4 separate regions of the Homo sapiens genome follow, and all the other regions are linked to region 1. The links are contacts of gene promoters, found by promoter capture Hi-C in human tissues and cell types (Jung and others, 2019). All regions are on one chromosome and are shown on one strand. The core of a region is centred on a gene start or on the middle of the fragment in contact, and the rest is flanking DNA. Distances in the headings are between cores, read along the strand shown. Region 1 holds the start of TRUB1 (TruB pseudouridine synthase family member 1). Region 2 overlaps ATRNL1 (attractin like 1). Region 3 overlaps LOC105378496 (a long non-coding RNA gene). Region 4 has its middle 26 kb from the start of ATRNL1.

What was found. The method cuts DNA at HindIII sites, captures the fragments that hold promoters and counts their contacts. A contact is called where the count stands out against the background at its distance.
Region 2: a fragment that was not itself captured here is called in contact with the fragment with the promoter of TRUB1 in region 1 in 2 of the 25 tissues and cell types used here (IMR-90 fibroblasts and mesenchymal stem cells).
Region 3: a contact is called between a fragment that was not itself captured here and the fragment with the promoter of TRUB1 in region 1, in 2 of the 25 tissues and cell types used here (aorta and mesenchymal stem cells).
Region 4: a contact is called between a fragment that was not itself captured here and the fragment with the promoter of TRUB1 in region 1, in 2 of the 25 tissues and cell types used here (aorta and mesenchymal stem cells).

The regions. Positions count from the first base shown.
Region 1 is chr10:114,936,192-114,939,885 of GRCh38, forward strand. It overlaps TRUB1 (TruB pseudouridine synthase family member 1), which reads left to right and starts at 2,004. Exons shown (of 8, transcript NM_139169.5): 1 at 2,004-2,348. The coding sequence starts at 2,063. RefSeq lists an enhancer at 1,836-2,375. The HindIII fragment of the contact is 7,626 bases long and covers 1-3,694 here.
Region 2 is chr10:115,123,456-115,127,149 of GRCh38, forward strand. All of the region lies in intron 3 of ATRNL1 (attractin like 1), which reads left to right. Among named protein-coding and RNA genes, the nearest start is that of ATRNL1, 32 kb to the left of the region's middle. The HindIII fragment of the contact is 3,762 bases long and covers 1-3,469 here.
Region 3 is chr10:115,081,586-115,085,279 of GRCh38, forward strand. All of the region lies in intron 1 of LOC105378496 (a long non-coding RNA gene), which reads right to left. Among named protein-coding and RNA genes, the nearest start is that of ATRNL1, 9.9 kb to the right of the region's middle. The HindIII fragment of the contact is 7,764 bases long and covers 1-3,694 here.
Region 4 is chr10:115,065,315-115,069,008 of GRCh38, forward strand. No RefSeq gene overlaps it. Among named protein-coding and RNA genes, the nearest start is that of ATRNL1, 26 kb to the right of the region's middle. The HindIII fragment of the contact is 3,345 bases long and covers 453-3,694 here.

The sequences.
Region 1 (3,694 bases), core at 754-3,253:
TCATGACCAGCCTGACCAACATGGAGAAACCCCGTCCCTACTAAAAATACAAAATTAGCTGGGCATGGTGCCACATGCCTGTAATCCCACCTACTCAGGAGTCTGAGGCAGGAGAATCATTTGAACCCGGGAGGCGGAGGTTGCAGTGAGCTGAGATTGTGCCACTGCACTCCAGCCTGGGCAACAAGAGTGAAACTCTGTCTCAAAAAAAAAAAAAAAAAAAAAAAAGACACAAGTGAGTAGCATAAAAGAAGGATGTGCAGCTAGAGACAGAGAACTTTCTAGGTTCTGAATAGTGTGTCAGTGTATTTCTGATAAATCTTCTCCCCCTGTGCCCCCAAGCTGGTATGAATCAGTTTTCTGTTGACCAAAGAGCCCAAACTCATACATGTATTGGAGCAAAAAAAACCTGTGAATTCAAGGCCTGCCCAATGTGGGAGATGTTGATTACCTTAGAAAAACAAAGCTTGGTGCTTCTGATCCCAAGAATGCCGATATAATAGCAGAGTAGCATTAATTTTGTTGTGTCCTAGCATCCCAGAAATCAAACATGCAAGAAATATACATTTCTTCATTTTCTTTAAATCAGATTAACTCTGGTCCTACACTGGGCTGATGGAAAATTCAAATATAAGCATCATATGTTACCCCTAGTTCTGTTCTCCCTCTGCATCCCTCACCCCCAGAGCCACAAGAGAAATAGGGAGGCTTGCTGATGTCCGGACAATTGGGAAAAGGCCTCTAATCTCCAAGTGCCTTGGAGTCATCCAAGTCATCATTGATCAAGCCTTGCAACCTTCCCTGCAAGTCCCTGGCTCTCTGCTTCCATGGCACAAGAATAGAGAACTCTTTCCTGAGGCTAATGGACACCATGCTCCTTTGGGTGCAGTCATCCCTTCTGAAGTCACAACATCTTTGTGGAAAAATTAACATCTTGAAGCAGGGCCAGGTGTCCACTAATCCTGTGATATGCCAATCTTTTCAGTTAGCTTAGGCTTTTATAATAGACCACAAGAGTAAGTGACTTCCTTCTAGGAGTTTCAGCTTTCCACCCTGAAAAAACTCCCTCAAAGATTTTTTTTTCCTTTTAATAAATTGTTCTGCCATGTGTCTGTTGCACGAATGGGTGCAAGTTCAAATGGGACCCCATAACTGGTGATTGTGAGCAGCTAAGGGGCATCACTAAAATACTAGATATTAAAGTCCAAGAGTATGATGAGGACAAAGAGTGGTTGTAAAGAAACCTAAAAAACAATGAGGGCAAACTTTATCTGTCTCACAATAGTTATGATAGCATTTAATGTTTCTGGTGCAGAAGTAATTTTTCTCCACTCTGCCTTGTGCTGGAATCAAAACAATATTCCTCAATCTTGTTAGGGAGTGAATAACTTTTAGGGAGAAGGTCTCAAATGGGAAGTGGTTTAAAGTTTATGAATTGCAAGAATACCTTTTGATATCTAAACAAAGTGTACTAAGGAATTCAACCCACAGAAGAGCTGATATTCAAAATCAGAATTATTAAAAATTGTAGTGGGGTCAGTGGGGGTTTGGGGAGGGTGAACAGGAGTGCATGAAGAGCATCAAAATAAGCACAAGTGATTTACCATTGGCTTGGTTTCTTCGGGGAATTTGAAGAATTCATACTTATTTATACGTTTTCAAATATTTATTTAAGTGCCTACAACATGTGAGGCATTTGGGAATGTCTCAGTTAACGTGGTACATAAGTTCCTTGCTCTAATAGAGCTCACATTTGGATGTCTTCTAATTCTGAACCTGAATGTAAGAGCACAATACAATCAATGAAGCAGTGAGCCCAGGAAGCCATGGATCTTCACAAGCCTCAGGAAAAGTCAACATTTAAAATTTTCTATTTAAAGTCCAAGGGCACAGCAAGCTCTTGGTCTATATGGGAAGGCCATGGACTACAATTCCCACAAGTCCGTGCGACCTCTCCGTTCTGCGCAGCTTCGCGGTATGAGGAAGAGGGTCCTGTCAGGCGCACTCTTGTTGCATCATCAGCGTGCACCTCCACGATGAAACAGGTCTGGGCTACAAAAGTATGGCCGCTTCTGAGGCGGCGGTGGTGTCTTCGCCGTCTTTGAAAACAGACACATCCCCTGTCCTTGAAACTGCAGGAACGGTCGCAGCAATGGCTGCGACCCCGTCAGCAAGGGCTGCAGCCGCGGTGGTTGCGGCCGCGGCCAGGACCGGATCCGAAGCCAGGGTCTCCAAGGCCGCTTTGGCTACCAAGCTGCTGTCCTTGAGCGGCGTGTTCGCCGTGCACAAGCCCAAAGGGCCCACTTCAGCCGAGCTGCTGAATCGGTTGAAGGAGAAGCTGCTGGCAGGTACTGCAGCCCGGGTGGGGACCAGGCTGAGGCGGTCGCTGCGAGAGGGGAAGCACATTAGGCTTTTTGCGACGCTCGTGATTCAAGAGACAAAAGGAGGGGAAAGGGAGACTGACCATTGAATTAGCTCTGGACAGGAATCTCGGGCATCTCGGGCTTGGACTTGCCCTGGCACGAACTCTTGTAGCCTACTTGGCAGTTGTAGTTCTCAACGGGAGGAAAAAAATCCCGTACTTACACAATAAAACCCTGCCCTTGGGCGTGCAGACCTGTTTTCTGTAATCTGATCGATCCCTCAGGAGGCTTTTGTTGGGTTCATGTGGATGAACCCCAAAAGGAAGTACTGGTTCTGCACCCCTAAAGTTGCATTCCTCAAAATGTATTGGAAATGCAGATATACTTCGTTAACCAAGACTTAATATAGTCGTTTTCACATTTTAATGGGCCTAACAATTACTTAGAGTCTCTTGTACAAATACAGATTCCTAATCCCTGCCCTGTCCGAGATTGTGATTCGGAGAGTTCGGGGTATTTTTAGGAAACTGCAATTCTAAATAGTTGCTCCAGGTGATTCCAGTGTAAGTAGTTTATGGACCACATTTGAGGAACACTAAATATAACTTGGCCACTAAGCTGAGAGTGTTCATTTTATTGATTCGTTTATTCACGTACACTGGGAAAATAGTAGAAAAGCCTAGAGAATCACCCCGTTAATCAGCTCGGATGATTTCACACATAAAGCATCCAGGATCCTTAAGTTCATTGGACATATACAATAAGCCAGGTCTGTGCTAGCCTATAGAGACTTGAAGATGAAAGATAACTCTCTTACCTTAACTGAGCTGATAGCCTAGTAATTTCTGCACCTTGTGGTGGTAAAACTAGTTAGTTAGGTTATTCAAGGCCCTCCAGAGTTTGGCCGTATTCTGTCTCGCCATTAAACCAGTAACAGGGACTTTCTTACATTGTTTAGTGTCCCATGGAAAACTTTACACTTTAAAAAAATGCAAAAACAAATTATTCTGATGGGAATTATAACTGACAGTACAGATTTAAGTGTTTATGGGCAAATAGGTACACTCCTGCAGATGTTTAATTCCAGTATCACGACTACTTATTCTTTTATTAAAGTTTTGCTTTGTTGCCTGAAAGTATGGGTCATACAGAGGACGTCAAAGTGAGGAATTGCATCAAGGATATGTATTGTGGTATCATCATAGTTTTTTAGTTTTCCTTCATAGAACTGCTGCTTTCCTGATTTGTTAGCTAAACTCTGGGTTTCTTTTCTTTTTTTTTTTTTTTTATCCTTAAGGTAATGATTACCATTCTTTCAGACAAGTTTCTGA
Region 2 (3,694 bases), core at 339-2,838, 190 kb after region 1:
TCAGAATCTAATATGTTTGAATTACTTCAATTGTATAAATATTTATTACTCAACATTTAATTACAGAGACTGTGTCACAGGCTTAGAGTACATAGTAAGGAAGAAGGCATAGGCTATCGCAGTGGCTTTAGACACCAACTACCTGCAGTTGGGCTAGAACAGATTTCCTAGGTTAAGAGCACAGTCCTCTACAACAAGGGTCTCCTCTCCACCCCAGATCCCCGTACCAGTCCATGGCCTGTTAGCAACAGGGCTACACAGTAGGAAGTGAGTGGCGGGCAAGTGAGCAAAGCTTCATCTTTATTTACAGCTGCTCCCCACTGCTTGCATTACTGCCTGAGCTCCACCTTCTGTCAGATCAGCAGCGGCATTAGATTGTCATAGGAGTACAGACCCTACTGTGAACTGTGCATGTGAGGGATCTAGGTTGCTCATTCCTTATGAGGTTCTAATGCCTGATGGTCTGTCACTGTCTCCCATCAGCCCCAGATGGGACCATCTAGTTGCAGGAAATCAAGTTCAGGGCTTCCACTGATTCTACATTATGGCGGGTTGTATAATTATTTGATTACATATTACAATGTAATAATAATAGAAATAAAGTGCATAATAAATGTAATATGCTTGAATCATCCCAAAATCATCCTCCCCCGGTCTGTGGAAATTTTGTCTTCCATGAAACTGGTCTCTGGTTCCAAAAAGGTTGGGGATTGCTGCTCTATAACACTGCTGTCATTTCAGACACTAGCTGCAAGCTTGGTGCTCCCCACCTACTCTGACCATCTGGCTACATATTTAGGGGTTCCTACTCTGTCCTAAAAGTTTGATAATTCACTAGAATTATCATAGAACTCAGGAAAGTTCTACACTTATGACTATAGTTTTATCATGAAGGATAGAAATCAGAGCCAGCCAAATAAAGGGATGCATAGAGTGAGGTCTGGGAGGATCATAAATGCAAAGCTTCTGGGTCCTCAGAATGTGTTACCCACCCAGCACATCAACATGTATCACCAACAGGGAAGCTCATCTGAGCTTCAGGTGTCCAGAGTTTTATTGAAGTTTCATTATGTAGCCATGAGTGATTGAATCATTGGCCATGAGGCTGAACTCAAATCTCCAGCCCCTCCCATCCCCTTCTCTCTCGGGAAGTTAGGCTAATACCATATGGCCCCAACATTTTAATCACATGGTTAGTGTTTCTGGAGTGGCCATCCCCTATTCTGAATTATATCTTTAGCTTAAATTAATTAGGGGCCCACCATGAGTCACCTCATTGGCATAAATTTTCAGGGCTCACCATGAATAGGAAGACACTCCCATCACTCAGGAAATTTCAAGAATTTAGAGGTTATGTCCCAAGAACTGGGGACAAAAGCCAGCCAAATTCTTTAGTATGCAGTAGTCATGCATTAGTGGGGGTATGTAAACAGATTTTTCACACAGCCTAGTTAGTGTTACAATCAGGTTATGAAGGAGTTCTATATAATTTCAAAATAAATAACTAATCCTTCATGTTGACTTTCATCGTGAGTAAAAGTATGAAGTATGGGGGTCAGATAGGACATTCTAGGGAGAGAAAAGCATATATACAAAGGTATAGACACATTAAAGAGCATTATATTTTAGGGCAATAGTTGAAAGTTTTGAGTAACTTGATTGTAGGAACTGTGAAGGATACGTAGGAGTCACATTACCCCAAAACAGCAATCAGTGACATTTACTTAGTGCTCATTTTGTGCCAATGTACAGGAGTTCTTTATATGCATTAGTTTATTTAATCCTCAAAATAACCTTTAGGTAGGTATTAATATTGTAATTTTACAAATGCAGAATTGAGACACAGAGATTTTCTGTGAGTGGCCCGAAGGTTGCCTAGCTGGTAAGTCAGAATATGAATCAAGGTTATGTAATTATAGGTCCTAATCCCTTAATCACTGTAATATTGCTTGCTTGTACACCACACTAAAGAAGTTGGGCTTTTATTCTGTAGGCAAGAGTTTTTAGAATGTGGAGAATGCATTGGAATGGAGAAGTGTTATTTTTTTTTTTTTTTACTGTGTGCTGGACAATTGTGTGTTGGACGTTGTTGTTTGGAAAATCATATATAGTAATAATTTGAGGCCTAGAAAGATTATATTCTTGCAGAGACTACCTGGGGACACTCGCAATCCATATTCAACTCAATCCAAACTCAGATACTGAGGTGATTCATAGCTCAGCTGCAGTGCAGTCCTTTGGAGGGCCTAACTTTAGGTAGTTTGCTTTCACTTCCAACCATTGGAGTCCCAGTTCAACGTGAAGGCCTTGTGTTTCACTTTTTCTTTCCTTCATTCTGTAAAATCCCTGAAATTACCACCGAGTTTTTTTTAGCCCTTCAAATCTTACCTCCAGCCTTGAAATCAGCAAATGCCAATAGGGTAAATGACCTCAATGCCTGGGCAGGCCTTCAAGCTGATTTTTTTGTTTTTATATAATTTGTCATTTTACTAGATTTCAGTTGGTCCGAATTTCCTGGTGTATTATACAGGAAGTGGAAACTCTCTTTTATTTATTGTTTTTAAAATACTTGTAAACAAAAAACCAAACAGATCTATTCTTTTTTGTTTGTTTGTTTTTTTGAGACGGAGTCTCGCTCTGTCACCAGGCTGGAGTGCAGTGGTGTGATCTCGGCTCACTGCAACCTCCACCTCCCAGGTTCAAGCGATTCTCCTGCCTCAGCCTCCCGAGTAGCTGAGACTACAGGCATGCACCACCGTGCCCACCTGATTTTTTTGTATTTTTAGTAGAAATGGGGTTTCACTGTGTTGGCCAGGATGTTCCTGATCTCTTGACCTCGTTATCCGCCTGCCTCCACCTTCCAAAGTACTGGGATTACAGGCATGAGCCACTGCGCCTGGCCCAGACCTATTCTTTTTATCTTTTTCAGAGAGCGCTCAGAGACTAGCTGTATCTATTATAAAGACCTATTTTTAGTAATACTCACCTTTATATAATTTTATTACAATGAACAATATGTATGTATAACTTAAGACTGGTGTCATAGGGTTTGTATTGTTTTGAGAGTCTCATTTTAAAATCATTTGTTGCTTCACAAACATAACCTAGTAGATGTAATAATAATTACTAAAGCGTTAAATCAAGAGTTGATTACTTTTTAACTTGTTTGCATTTGAGAATGTATTTTCTAAATCAATTATTTGACTATAATATTTCATTTATGTGTCAAATATGATTTGAATGGGGGAATTCAGTTCTTAGTGGTACCTAAACATAATTTTAACTGTTTAAAGGAATTGACCGTGTCGAGTTATATAATTTGTTTGTTAGCAGCTTCTTTTCTTTCACCAATTGCATGTTTTCATAGATTTAGAGAGGTTAGAACATATAACTAAATGAAGATAGGTAATTTTCCTCATGAACAAGTATCCTTAAAAAGAAGTACAAGTTACCAGTTTAAAACTATTTTGTACATTTATATCTCCCCCACCCCAAGTTTTTGTTTGTGTGCTTATGGGCTTATGTGAGCAATATTCTGTCTTGGAATAGTTATATATTAATGCAATTTGCATAGATATGCAAAATTAGAAAAACATTAAAGTCTATATAGTTTTAAATTTTTTGAAGTAAATATTTTAAATCACCTAGATAAATGTATTGGAAATGTACAGCTATAACTAGAATGTAATTGTAA
Region 3 (3,694 bases), core at 858-3,357, 150 kb after region 1:
GGGCGCCTGTAGTCCCAGCTAGTTGGGAGGCTGAGGCAGGAGAATGGAGTGAACCCGGGAGGCGGAGCTTGCAGTGAGCCGAGATCCCGCCACTGCACTCCAGCCTGGGCGACAGTGCGAGACTCCGTCTCAAAAAAAAAAAAAAAAACAAAAAAAAAACAGCTGCATAAGTGGGCTTTATCAGTGGAGGACATGTGCCGGACAGTTTTCTTCAGAAAGTGTTAAGGGCCTGTCTCCCACCATAATTATCTAGTGCAGATGGTAAAGGAGTTAGAAATCTAGAAGCATCTAGGTATTTTACTTAACCAGATAGATGAACACACCAAAGGCAGAAATTTAACTCGAGAGTCTATGATTCTAATGCATCTCAGAAGGAAATAACTTAAATAATATCTTCACAGGTACTGACTTAGTTATAACCCTTCAGGAAAAGCATGTAGACACCATTATGGACAGTTCAAAGAATACATCTTTTTAAAGAGCAGTGATAATTAAGTAAATAAGAAACTATTCTGGCTAAAAAGGGTTATAGAAAACAATATGATACATTTATATTCATTTTTACAGGGTATATAATCATCCTAATTTTGAATGGCCTGTTCCATTTTATCTTCTTCATCTTAAAAATGACTGAGCTAGACAAGAAGTAGTGTAAAGGAGGTCATAAAAATTACAGTGGCAAGATAGATCCCAAAGGTGAATGACTAGGACTTTTAAGTTGGGAGAAAAACAGTAGAAATCTGATAAGGGCTATAAAATAATAAATGTTAAAGAGAAGGATGATTGGATGCTTATTTACATTTTCTAATAATAAAGGAATAAAAATACACTTGATAAAATGAAAAGGCAGAAAAATTTAAAACTCATGAGTCTTTTTTCAAACTTAATTAACTTTAGAACTTCAATCATAGGATAATTGCTACAGATAGTTTAGGATGATTCAGAAAGATTAAGCATTCATGGGAATGAGGATAGCGTTTCCAGCACCAGAATTAAAACAAAAATAATGAGCATTAGAAAGTCCTGAGACTTCAGGGCATACACTGAGCATAAGCCAGAGGAAATGTTCCCAGCTGGTATAATATTGTCGACCTGCCAGGATTGCTGGTGATCTACAAGCCTCTGAGCATGAACTGGGGGTTAGCACTGGCTTCTCTGGTGGTTTCCTTTGAGTCATTGCATCCTCAAAGGCCATATTACCAACACAGTATTGCTGCTTTGCTGTTTATTCATACATATTTTTGGTGTCTGGCTAGCTCAGAATGCCCATATTTTTTCTCCTTTTAATGAGGCTAATTTTTTTCTAATTTTGAGTGATCATTTTCAGTTTTACCCTTTCCAATCTTTCTCTAATAAGTATTTCATTTTGACTAGTCTGCATGTTTAAAAGAAGATCGGTTGATCCAAGAATCTGTCAGTAATGATGTTATTATTTATGCAGAGGAGAGTTGGGATAATCTTAGAGACTGACATTTCCTTAAGCACCCTCCTAGCCATTAAAAATAGCAGAACTGTTGCTGATGATATCTGCCAGACTTGAGTTTGGGAAGAGTGTTTCCCAGTGAAGACCTAACCTTTCATTTTAATTCTCCCCTTAGATTCATTCGCTGTGTAGTCAGAGATGCCAAAATTCCACTGCTAGTTTTGACCTCCACTTAGGGGATGTAAGCAGCTACCTACCATAACTGACTTGAGATGTATGTCAAATCTTTCATCCAGGAGCCACTCTGTCTCAAATCTCACCGTTAGTATTTAACTCCTTTGTGTTCATTCCCTCTTTTGGTATTCTTGTAAAAATAAGCATTCCCTCCATGGATGAGATATTATGCTAAGATCACTAGAGGATGTTAGTGATTCTCAGATAGTGTTTCCTCTAAGAGGCCAGGTAACAAAGAATGTCCACACTGTGTGCGCTGGGTTGGGGGGAGTTGTTGGTGGCAGTAGAAGTGATATATCTTTATATTTTTCTTATATTCGTTATGAAAACTACTCTCAAGAATAGGTACAAAGTCATTCATGGTAAGATGTTAATAACTGGTACAAACAAAATGTGTTAGCCTTTCAAAGCCTTTCGCAATGGAACAAGTGCCCCTAAACCTTTAGCCTAAAGGACAGAATCCTTAGCTGGAGTTCCAAGTTTATAGCAAGAGTGTGGGGGCAGTGTATTTTGTTCTCTGGGGTCTTCCGATGGTCACTTCAGTCACCCTACACAGGTGGTCAGTTACCTTGCCTAGGCATAAAGCAATGGGCTGTGAAGTTGCTGCTCCCCCACCACTCCCTGCCCCAGTGACAGGCGATGGGGCTGTAGCTGCAGAGGAATTATTGAGCTTGCTCTGTGGTTCACCAGTGTTACATGGCCCCACTGGGTCCTTGTGCAGAGAAAGGAATCGAAGCTGACACAGTTCAATAAGGTTTCACTGTTTTTAAAATAATTTTGACATCTTATCTTATTTGGACTTTGGATTCTTCCAACAATGTTCAGGGATGCTCAATATTTTTTGCTCTTTTATGAATAAAGAAACAGGGTGAATGAGGCATGCCCTGTTTGGTTGTTGAGACTGGGTCTGCTGGCTCTTTGTCCAGTTCTCTTGGCACTACCTCCTGCTACCTCCATCAAGGATTGTGTCCAGTAATAAAGAACATGGCCATAAAACATGTCCTAAAATATCTGCTACCAAGTGGTTCAGATAACTTAATAAATAAAATTGTCACACATGCTTCCTAATTGTAGATATAGCATTTTCTGTTTACCCTGGAACAAATTTTCCTAGGAAAGTATGCTTCCATTTCCTGTGCGGAGAGACTTTTAGACTACGTTCCAATTTAAAAATGTAGAACTTGGGGCTCTGGCTTAAAATCAGCAAGGTTCATGTTGACTTTTTTTCATTTAATTTTAAATTTCACATCAGCTTTTGCAGAGGGGTACAAGTGAGGGACTTAAAATGAGAAGAATCATAAGCCTGGTTTTAATTTACTTGTGTACATTTTCAGAATTACTGTGCCTGAAGTCTTCCAAGACTGATGGTTTTAATAAGTGGAATGTCGTGTTATCGGGATTTGTGGGGCCTGGCTATCATTTGTCAGATATTTTTCTTTTTTTATGTGTGTGCTGTTTTGTGGTTCCTTTTTGTCTCTGAGCTCTTCAAGAAAACCTTGTTGCATCCTGATAGCTTTGTCTCTCCTTTGAGAGGGTCCATAATTCTCTTTCATGCTCCTTTCCTTGTAAACATAAACGTATTTTCCTGTGTCAGAACCCCAAGCAGCTTTCTAAAAGCCAGTATGTTATTGTTCTTATGAATTGTTTATTTTGCTTGGAAGCTTTTGTTTTTTAAGTACTTCCTGTGACTGACTTTTTCTTTAAACAGAGAGCACATGAAACAATCCTCAATTTAAGGATTATAGAAATTTTTACCTGGTTTATCTACATGTGAATGATGCCTTATTGTAGCAGTTGTTGGATGTTCTCACAACCAAAACGATCCTTTCTGTTTCTCAAAATCAAAAGTGCTTCTCTTTATGTTCAATGACACTTAAAATTGGTTTATTTAGATTTAAGATGATACAACACAATGCAGCGATTCCTAATAAGAGTTACCTTGAGAAATTAGAATTATCTCTTAGGGAAAATTTATGACATCTGAAAATAAAATAGTATGACATTTTCTTTTTTGCTACTTGATTCAAATTGAACTTC
Region 4 (3,694 bases), core at 875-3,374, 130 kb after region 1:
GAGTGCAGTGGTGCGATCTCGGCTCACTGCAAGCTCCCCCTCCCGGGTTCACGCCATTCTCCTGCCTCAGCCTCCCAAGTAGCTGGGACTACAGGCGCCTGCCACCATACCCAGTTAATTTTTTTGTATTTTTAGTAGAGACGGGCTTTCACCATGTTAGCCAGGATGGTCTCGATCTCCTGACCTCGTGATCTGCCCGCTTTGGCCTCCCAAAGTGCTGGGATTACAGGCGTGAGCCACTGCACCCGGCAGCCATATATGTTCTATATGACTCTTTCTGAGACAATAGCTGATTAGAACAGTGATTAGAACTGTGATTTCTGAGACAATAGCTGATTTCTGAGACAATAGCTGATTAGAACAGTTGCCACGAGCTGGACCAATCATATTAATATTCTCTATCTCTCTCTTTTGCTCTCGAAATCTCAAATTGAGATTCAGAAACAGCTATGTAGTCTCTGTTTGTGGCTAGAACTGTAACATATGAACCCAGAGCTAGAGAGATGCAATATTCTATCAAGCAGAGAGAGAAGCAGAGGAAGCCGGTCGGCACAGACGGAATGCAGTAGCACACAGAGAGAAGCAGACACTCGGAGATGTCTGACACCTTTCTGCTTAGATTCCAGTCAGTTCAGAGGCCCAGACGCATTCCTGTCTGGAAGCATTCTGATCCTGTTTTGTAAATCAACAATAAATCCCTTGCCACCCTCTTTGCGTGTTAGCTTAAGTTGTCTTGCTCTTAAAAATCTAAAGAGTTCTAAATGATATGAAATGTCTGTTATACAGAAAGTAGAATGACAATTGCCAGGGGCTGAGAGGAGAGGGAAATGGAAAATTGCTCAATGGTTATAGTTTTAGCTTTGCAAGAGGAAAAAGTTGTGGATATTGGTGGCACAACAATGCGAATATACTTACCACTACTGAGCTCTATGCTTAGATACGGTTAAGATGGTAAATTTTATGTTATGTATATTTTATCGCTGTTTTTAAAAAAGTTTAAAATAGCCTGTTGTAGTCAGCTTCCTTGTCTTCCTTACTACTGCAGCCATATTCAGGTCTCCATGGCCCAAGGTATGGACAACTGTAGTCACCAAACTGGTCTCCCCACTTCCACCCCTTGGAATTTGGTCCCCAGCAATCTACCCTACATGCATGGAGCAATCAATATTACCCATAAAGCACTAACGCTGTGCTGTACTCCAAAATGCAAACCTTCATGGTGTCCCATTGAATTCAGGATCAAGTTCATACTCCCCAGCTTGTCATACAGGACCCAGTGATCCTTTCCAACCTTCTGACCTACTGATTCCCAGTAGGAAGCAAACCCTAGCAAGACTGGTCTGCCTCATCCCAGAACAGTACTTACTCATGCTGTTTCCTTGCCATGATTACCTTCCTTCTCCTCACCACATCTTATCTTTCTTTCACTTGATCTTAGTCCAAATGCCGAGAAGCAATCTTATCTTACTTTCAAAGCCCAGGTTCAGACCCATCAATTCTATAAAACATTTCTGACCACACTAGTCCTCCATGGACATTTATTTGAATTGAACTTCTTAGCATTTAAATATACACAGTTTCTTATTCATCTGTCTTGTTCTTCTGCTAGTTTATAAATTGCTTGATTATAGAACATGAGCTTGATAATCTTTGATTTTTCCTGGATACTGTGTTCTTGCTAGGCTGTTAATAATGCTTGTTGAATGAAATGAGAAATGAAGAACGGCTGCTTTACCAGTTTGTCTCTTCTGCCAACTTTTTTACATGGATTTTACACGTCAACTTTTTTACACAATGATTAAATATACCTAATTTGATCATCCCAACAACACTAGTAAATATATATGATCATTATCCTCATACTACAGATGAGGAAACACAGGCACACATCGTTTGTTTGTTTTTTTTTTTGAGACGGAGTCTTGCTCTGTTGCCCAGGCTGGAGTACAGTAGCACGATCTTGGCTCACTGCAACCTCTGCTCCTGGGTTCAGGCCATTCTCCTGCCTCAGCCTCCCGAGTAGCTGGGACTACAGGCATGTGCCACAATGCCTGGCTAATTTTTGTACTTTCAGTAGAGATGGGGTTTCACTATGTTGGCCAGGCTGATCTCGAACTCCTGACCTGATGATCTGCCTGCTTCGGACTCCCAAAGTGCTGGGATTACAAGCATGAACCACTGTGCTGGGCCAAGCACACATAGTTAAATAACTTGCAAAAAAAAAAAAATCGTATCTATTTGTAGGAGGCAGAGTCGTGATTCTGAGCTGAATCTATTTGGCTCCTAAGCTTATGCTTTTTCTACAGTATCACCACATATCCCATACTCTATTGTTATTGTTGGCTTTATTGCCTGTTTTTCCTGTGAATTTTAACCTTCCCAAAAGCAGGAATCTTATCTCAGTATATCACAGAGAATCACTAAGTATCTATAGAGGAAAGGAAGGAGAGAAGGAAAGAAGAAAAGGAAGAAGGAAAGGAGGGAAGAAAGGAAGAAGGAAAGGAGGGAAGAAAGGAAGGAAGGAAGGAGGGAAGGCAAGAGGGCAGGAAGACAGAAAAGAAGGAAGGAAGAAGGAAGGAAGGGAGGGAGGAAGGAAAGAAGGGAGGGAGGGAGGGACGGATAGGAGGGCAGAAACTCTGGAAAGGAGCTTGTCTTACTCCTAAGCTTGGTAAAGATCAGTCTTGCAAGGGGCTTGACTAGAAAACACTGGCTTATCTCACTGAACCATATTCCCAATGTCATTGACTCCTTTCCCCTGGGGAGTAATTCAACCATGTGTTCACTGTATGGATCAGAGTTGATGATGAATATTCTCTTGCCTCAGTCTCTTTTGGCCAGAGTTCCTTGGCTTCCAGCCTGCTCCTTGCTTGTTTTGAACGAATAATATATGACTTTCCTTCTTAACTGGCAAATGCTGAACTGTGGCCTCTCTTAACCCTCAAGTCTCCCGATAAAAAGCAAAATATTAGATTCGCTGACCAGCGCTACTCCTTACCCCGGCTGATTTCACATGAAGAGCTATATATGGGGTGGTAACATAGGTTTAAGGATGGATGTGCATATAACTCCTGGATACCGTTCCTGAAAATATACTATTGGGGATTATTTCTTTGGTTGAAGAGTCCCTTCACTACCACATGTCAGTCCCCTTACCTATAAAATGGGAACCTTAGGGTTGTTATAAGGATTAAATGAGTTAATGTGTATAATGTGCTTAGCACAGTACCTGCCACTCAATGCTATTATTGTTGTTGTTGTTATTATTATTGGTAGTAGTAGTAGCAGTAGTTGTTGTATGAAGATGCATGATTTCCTGGGAAAGGTAGCACATTAAGGCAGGATCAGTCATGAGTTACCTCAAGCAGATTAATTTACTAGCCCTTTCATGCTATTTCCCAAAGGGATGGTTTATCAAGTTGAGGAAGATGTAGATGTGATTTATGATGGATTTGAGGTTAGTACTGTGTATCCAGGTTGTGTGTGAGAAGACAAGAAGGAACTGAGGGCACAGCTGTACTTAGGAAGAACTCTGGTTTGCAAGGTACATAAGCTAATTCAGACGAGTTTAAACCATAGGAGATTTTGTTACAAAGGCACTAGGTAACTGCAGGGACCAGGGAGCAGGGTGTCCACTCTCATTCCAGATTCTTTTGAATTCTGTATATTTTATTCTCTTTCCACAAACAGACTTTCT